2 separate regions of the Homo sapiens genome follow, and region 2 is linked to region 1. The links are contacts of gene promoters, found by promoter capture Hi-C in human tissues and cell types (Jung and others, 2019). All regions are on one chromosome and are shown on one strand. Each heading gives the region's core, a stretch centred on a gene start or on the middle of the fragment in contact. The rest is flanking DNA. Distances are from core to core; before and after follow the strand shown.

Region 1 (3,718 bases), core at 1,219-3,718:
GCCTGGGCATCTCCAAGGGGGACCAGGCACCGCGGGCAGGTTTCTAAACACGTGAAGGGCACAGGGCTTGAAAGACAAGGAGGGGCGCCCAGGAAGGGCGGAAAAGAGGGGCTTTGGGGCTCCCCAGGACACCAAGTCAGTTTCTGAAAACGGCGTTCCCTGGAAGGCCTTCCAACACCTCCGAGGGAAGACTTGGAGCTCTGAAGACCCAATGAAACCTCAGTTCTGACTGACTCCTCCTCTGCGATCAATTCCGGATGCCCCCACTTAGTCCCTGCCTCGGTAACCGGTTCTTTGGGGACAGCAGCATCAGCACCCGACGCCCATCGCACAAGTGGGCGCCGTGGTGCGAGGCGTATCCTAGCTACCCAGGCCGGGGTGGGGGCGCCCCGGTACTTACACTCCCCAAGCAGGCAAACTTTCAGGCTTGTCTTTCGAGAACCGGGAGCTCGCATCACAGTTCCGGGTAATCACCGAGGCAGCTTATGTAATTGCCCGCGATGCCGCTCAGCAGATCTCTCTCCTTACTCGGCCTCAGAGCTCAGTACATGGGCACCCTCTTCCCCCCACCCCCCACCCCGGCGATTGGAATCCCGAGCTTGCCCCACCACCGCCTTCTACAAAGCAGCGGGGTGATCTCGTGTGCTACAAACACCAAGCCAGTATGCAGGTTCAGGCAAAACTCTGGCTGCCTCCCTGCGCCCCTTTCACTGCGTCGATGGTTTACAGATAACTGCATTTCTATAAACCCTCTCTCCACGGTTAGGGGGTGGGAGGGAGTTAGAGATCGGGTGGGGGCTTGGCGCGGTACTGTTGAGGGCTCTGCACCCAACTGAGCAGTAATACACTCATCCACATGGACGCGGGTGCATAAATCGCCTTAACATTTTGCCCTGAAAGCGGAGCCAATTTCCAAAGTTAAGGACCACGCAGCTGAATTTCCAGTACTTTCCAACCTCGCCTAGGCGGGGGCAGGCAGAGAAGGGGCGGGCAGCGGGCAGCTAACTCGCCCGACCCCCCCGCCAAGAAGGACTCACTAGGTGAACCCCCCGCCCTTCACCCAAGTAGTTGGTTGTGTATTCCTCGGTTGCGTGTGTGTGTCCACACACACACACACACACACACACACACGCCGCCCCACTACCTTCCAGTCTGCTCCTCCAATGTAACGACCGCATTTAAAAATGGCAATTAAAATGACTGAGGAGCTCGGTGATCACATTTCAACCCAGAGCACATTTCCCGAAGCTGGGGGTGAGAGTAGTCATACAGTCACACTCACACCCGGGAGCCCTCCAAGCGTCCATCTGGCGGCTGCAGCCTCAGTTGGCTCCTAGACGAACATCAATACCGCGGCCGGGCGCCCGGTGAGGAGAGGCGGGCGCCCCGCGGGTTGCAGAGGGCGAGGAGCTGGGGTCGCATCTCCAGGATCTGAGCTCCAACCACCGCCCGTGCGGGGCTGCTGCAGCCGGCACTTGCCCCGCAGGGCAGGCTGCAGCCGCTGAAGCCCGGCGCCGCCTCGCGGGCTCCTCCAGCGCCCGACGGGGGCCTGGGGCGAGCTAGTCTGCAGAGGGGCTGCAGGCGACCGGGCCGGGGCGGGGAACGGGATCCGGGAGAGGCAGACGAACCTGGGGCGCGCCGCCTCCCTCCCACCCGCTTCCCACCTCCCTGCCCTCCCCCAACCCTTGCTCCCAGGCTCCAGTCCGCGGCGGGCTCCGGGGGCTGCGGCGGCTCCAGGCTCCAGAACAGCTTGCCTCTTCGGCCACCCGCGCCCTAGCCTCCCTCCTCCTGGGCCAGGGGAGCAAGCAAACATCTCCCGGAGCCCTCGGCAGCCGCGTGAGCTACCCGAACCCTGCCCGGGCCAGCAGTGCAGAGGGCGATGGAGCTGGCGAGGCGTCGCCGCGGTCCCCAAGGCGCTTTTCCGTAGAGCGGATCACGCCGCCTTACCGTGGCTGCAGGCTGCTACCGCCGGGGAAGCGGCGAGGACGGCGGCAGGGAGGCAAGGCGCCGCGCCGGTGGCTCCTCTCTCTCTCGGCGGCGCGGCTCCTCTGCTCCGCGAGCCGTAGCGGGGCGCCCAGGAAGGAGCAGGTCCGGGCTCTGCGCTCAGCTCCAGCGAGACCAACAATAGCTCCCGCGGGGAGCGGAGCCCCAGCGAGCCTCCAGCCGCGCGCGCACGACCGGCTCCCGCTCCCGGCCGCTCCCGGCCGGCGTCCCTGCCAGCACTGCTGCCCCACATGAAACAGCTGCAATCCCGAGGCTTCTGGGGGGTTGGGGCGGGTGTGTGCGCGCGCGTGTGTGAGTGTGTGTGTGTGTGTGTGTGTTTAATAGCTTCCCTTCTCTTCTTCCCCTCCCTGCCTGCTCGCCTGCCTGCCTCCGTCCCCCACCCTCGCTCTCTTACACACAGAAAGAGAGGGCGAGCGAGAGAGAGACACACACACACACGCACACGCACACGCAGGTTACATGAATGGGAGGCGGTAGCCAATCCTACGAGGCCGGCGAGCCGCGCGGCGCACTGGCGCTGGGAGCAGGGCCGCACTCCGGCGCGGGGGGGCGCCACGCAGGTGATGGGCGCCTCTCCGGGGGCCACGCGCGGCCGCTCCCTCACCCCAGTCTCGGTTCCTCTGTCTCCTTCCCCCTTCCTCTCCGCCGCCTTCTCCATCTTCTCTCCTTTTACCTCCTTTGCTTTCTCGAGTTCTCCGAGCTCTCTCAGTTCGGTATCTTTCTGGTCTCTTTCTTCTTTTACCCTCCTTGCTTGCTTTCTCTTCCCCTTTCTGAAACTTTCTCTTTTCCTTTCTGGACTTTCTTGTACTTCCTCTCCTCTTGCCTTTTGTTCTTTCCTCCTCCTTTGGCTTTCTCTCCAGGCTCCCCGTAGCACGGTCTCGTCCCCTCTCCCTCCTCTTCGCCTTTCCCTGGGTCTCTCTGGCGCCCAGGGCCTCCCTTCTGCCTGCTCGCTGGATGTTACTCCACACCCCCCACCCCAACACTTTTCTAGGGACGGTCTCTTTCAAGTTGCTACTGCAGCACAATCAGAGTAATTAAGAGCTGAGATCTTGAGTTCCTTCTTCAGGCATGCAAGATGCCCAAAGAAAGGCCCTCCTTCCTCGGACAACTTCCCCAAAACCATGGTAACAGCTACTGAGTCGTGATAACAATCACTTAAAAAATAGCAGTGATTGCGGTCCAAGAGATTTCTGTCCCTCGAATGTTTGGATCGTGATGGCAAGCACATTTCCAAGAGAAGGGCATTTTTATGTGATGAGAGCGGTAGTTTGACTGAGTGGCAACTTGGAAGGGCTTTGGGGAAGAGACTGGAGGAATTCCCACTCCAGCCCTGCTGCCTGCTGGCTAAAGGACTTAGTGCGAGCCATTTCCCCTTACCCGGCTTCAGTTTTCTCATCTATAAAATGGATGATACCGACTTCACCAGTTTTGGTGAGGATTAAAAGAGAGAACAATGGAAAGAAAGCACTGGGTGTATATGAGATGCTTAATTTATGTTAGTTTCCTTCTTTAAGACAACTTCCTTCATGATCTTCTGCTACAGTGTGTCTCTCTGATCTAAAGTAGTCAATGAAGGAGGAAATGTGACAATGCTAATTTCACATAAATGTGAAAGGAGGGGTAGGCTATTTTGAAAACTCTTCTGTGTGGTGAGGAGACTGTCTAGCCAGTTGCCATATGCTGATTATAAAGGCATCACAGATTATAAACGTGG
Region 2 (3,718 bases), core at 313-2,812, 40 kb after region 1:
TTCCAGAAAGACACCCATCACTTGGAGAGAGGGTGGGGATTGTAGAGTGATATTCAAAACTGCTAGTGGAAGTCAGTTTCAAGGAACATTCATTGCCCATCTATTATGCACCAGACATTGAACTGCTTTAAAATACTCCATGTGATTAAGTCACGGAAATGGGGACACGTGAAATTATTATCATCAATTATAGCAATGGATATATGTGCATTATGGGAGACTCCCTCAGTCATCCTCTTTTTTGCATCTATAAAGTGGGGGTGACATTTTCCATCCCAGCCAACTCTATGAGGTAGAAGAGCCTCTAACTCTGAATGAACTCTAAAGTTTAGTCTCACAAGTGTTGCTGCTGAAATTACTCTTTCTGGAACAGAAGTTTACAGGTTTTAAAACATCTCAAATTCATTATGTGTTTTCATCCTCTCAGCATTCCAAGGAAGTAGGCTGGAATTAGAACTTTTCTAGCAGTTTTTGGCAATACCATCAGAAAGGGGAAAGTACAATGTCGTCCTAATGTCATTAGCACTTTGAATCACCCAGGCAGGCATGTGTTGAGGCTTTCCAGTGTGAATGTTCTCATTGAAACAGTGTTCTGTATTTTGATACTAAAACACGAGCAGGCCTGGTCTGCTCTGTTTGGCAGAGTACGAGCTCCCTACAAATGACTGTGCCTTTCTCAGTTCAGGTTTAGCACCTGGGAAAGAAGAAGAACTCTGGAAGTGTTCATTGACTGACTGACTGAGTGAATGGATGGGTGGATGGATGGATGGATGAATGAATAAATGGGGGAAGGCACAGGAAATTAGACTAATGGGTAGAAGAAAACTGAGATCACAAAGATCTGGGACTAAGATCCTTAAAATGTGATGAATATAAGATAAGAAGTTCCCAACATAAAAACTAAAACTGTAAACTGAGAAAAGAATAGATTAAAATATATATGAAATTTAAAAATGTGAACATATGTTGTATTTAATTAAGATCAACAATAAGCAAATGAGAAGCTTGTGTCTATGTTGACGTTTCAATTCTCACCATGATTTTTGATTAGGTTATATTTATTTATGATTTTTGGCACATTAAAGGGCTTTTTTAAAAAAAAAAAAGAGAAGAAATCCTGAGAATCAGCTTTGAAAGTAAAACAATAAACACAAACACAATTTTCCACTTTACTAAATTTAAATGATATCCTTCTTAATCAACTAAAGAGAAATCAACTGTTATTAATTAAATGCTCAATCATGGAATGACAACTAGCATGATCAACAGAGACTCATCTCCTACACCACTGGTAGCTAACAAGCCTTTTTATGTGATTGACATTAGCAACCATACAGCAAACAAAAGGAATGTCCAGTAAGGCCTGGAGGCTAAAAGTGATTGTGCTCTGGATTGTTGGTAGACGATTAACTAAAGATACACACACACACACACACACACACACCCCAGGTAAAGCCTTTTATAAACTATATATTTTTTATCTATTAAATAGCAACACATATAATTCAACTTTATGGGCAGTAAGAAGTCACTCGTTTAACATAGTCATTGGCCTGGCAATAACTATGTGCCAGGCAGTAGGTGTGGTGTATGTAATGACTATGTGCCAGGCAATAGGTGTGGTGTACGTATTGACTAGGTGCCAGGCAATATTTATATGTAATAACTATGTGCTAGACAATACGTATATGTAATAATTATGTGCCAGGGAACAACTATGTGCCAGGCAATACATATATGTAATAACTATGGGCCAGGCAATATGTATATGTAACAACTATGTGCCAGGCAATATACATATGTAATAACTATGAGCCAGCAATACATATATGTAATAACTATGTGCCAGGCAACAACTGTATGTCAGGTAGTATGCATATGAAATAACTGTGTGCCAGGCAATATGCTTGATGCTGGGGATACAAAAGCAGACAAACTCTAAACTGAAAGTGCTCACAGTCAAGAAGTGAAAACAGACCTGGAAATCAAAGGAAAACAACTTGGTTTGATGTAAAAACAAGAAGAACAAAAAGTGGGGCAGCCCAGAGGAGGAAGGGAGAAATTGACTTTCTTAGATATAAATTCTTGTTTTTTAAAAAAACTCCTTTGAACCTGGTGCTCCATGGGTCATGTCTACTTCACACTGTAGCCAGAGAGCTCTTTCCCAAATGAGAATTTGTGATCATGTTGCTCTTCTCCTTAAAAAGCTCCAGTGCTAATGTCCATCTCTTTGACTAGACTCTCAGTTTCAGGAAGGCAGAGACTGGGTTTGTTTTGCTTGCTGCTTAACACTTCACATTAATCATGAGTTCCATGCAAAGTAGGTACTTAAGTTTATTTGTTGAATGAGTGAACTGGAGACACCAAAACATGATCATAAAGTTTCAAGAAGTTTTCTTCCTTCTCTTTCTACGTCAGTGTGTTCTGGTGGTTAGGGTTTGTAGGAGCTTCCCATGCAGAACAGTGTAGGGTTAAGAGCATGAACTTTGGACCCCATGAGATACAATTCCAAATCTTGACTTCCCCTTTTCCTGTCTGTATGACCTTGAACAAATGATTGAAACTCTCTTAACTTTAGTTTCCCCATCTACAAAACACGAGTAATAACAATAATGATATCTGCATGACAGGATAGCTATGAGGATTATACATTTACAGGAGATGCCTGGCAGACTCCCCTAGGTGTATTAAGTGTTCAGCAAACGTGGACATTATTTTTGAAATTCTCCCCTAAGCAAAAAATCAAATTCCCAAGCTTTTACCATTGCTCAAAACGCTGGGGGTTTTCCTTTGGGACAAGCTTCCAGGGTGCTCATTTCTGAGTCTCAGAAGAGCCTCCAGAGCGGGCAGAATCTGGAGGAACTCAAGGAGAATTCAGTGTCTCCCACTTGGCCACTCAGTATGTTCATCAGATTCGTCCCCAAAAGACTCAGGATTATTTCCAAATTTCAATTGAAAAAGCTAAAGACTTTTCCCCATTGAGAAGTCCAGAACCAATGTTGTTTTGTGGACAACCTGGGGGTGGAGGACAGAAGGGAGTACTTTCAAGAAGGAAGCTCTCCTGATCACTGGTTAAAAGGGGCTGCCTCTTTAACTTAACCTTGTGTCCACCTTAGAAAAGCTAATTTTGTTTGTTTTGTCTGTTTGTTCTTATAGTACATTTCTGCAGGGGAAAAAAATAATGGCAACAAAGGGTGCTGGAAGGTTGGATAAGTGGAAAAGACTCAATCTTTTTGGTATTTGACATCTGATATTTGCATATTTCGTTTTAGGAGTCAGATTTAGATAAGTGGATATATACAAATCACCAAGGGACAGCACAAGGAATACCCACACTTACCCCAGTTTAAAACAGGGTCTCTGTCGAGGTCTCTAATGAGATTTCAATAGTCTGATTTTATAATTTTGAAGCAGTCTTGTAATTAGACATTGTCTGTATGTGGGTGGCATGCTGGAAAGGAAGTGAGAAGGGAGCTGGGAGGCCCAGATTCTAGTTCTTTGTCTGCCTTCCTGTGGTGCTGTCTTTGGGTACATGAGTTCCTCTTTCTATACGTTAGTTGAATCATATTTGTAAATAATGACATCCTTGGTATCTTTTTCACTATGAAGGATCTACTTTTCACTGTTTTCCCCACAGGACCCAATTTTTTGTAAGACTTCGTCTACTGAACAAATAAGAATGGGAAGCCTATTAATAATGGGCTTGTGCAAGCTATAC

Evidence for each region. The method cuts DNA at HindIII sites, captures the fragments that hold promoters and counts their contacts. A contact is called where the count stands out against the background at its distance.
Region 2: a contact is called between a fragment that was not itself captured here and the fragment with the promoter of TENM4 in region 1, in 1 of the 25 tissues and cell types used here (aorta).

What each region holds. Positions count from the first base shown.
Region 1 is chr11:79,438,562-79,442,279 of GRCh38, forward strand. It overlaps TENM4 (teneurin transmembrane protein 4), which reads right to left and starts at 2,469. Exons shown (of 34, transcript NM_001098816.3): 1 at 1,948-2,469. RefSeq lists silencers at 2,058-2,167, 2,428-2,597. The HindIII fragment of the contact is 13,466 bases long and covers 1-3,718 here.
Region 2 is chr11:79,479,490-79,483,207 of GRCh38, forward strand. No RefSeq gene overlaps it. Among named protein-coding and RNA genes, the nearest start is that of TENM4, 40 kb to the left of the region's middle. The HindIII fragment of the contact is 3,520 bases long and covers 1-3,322 here.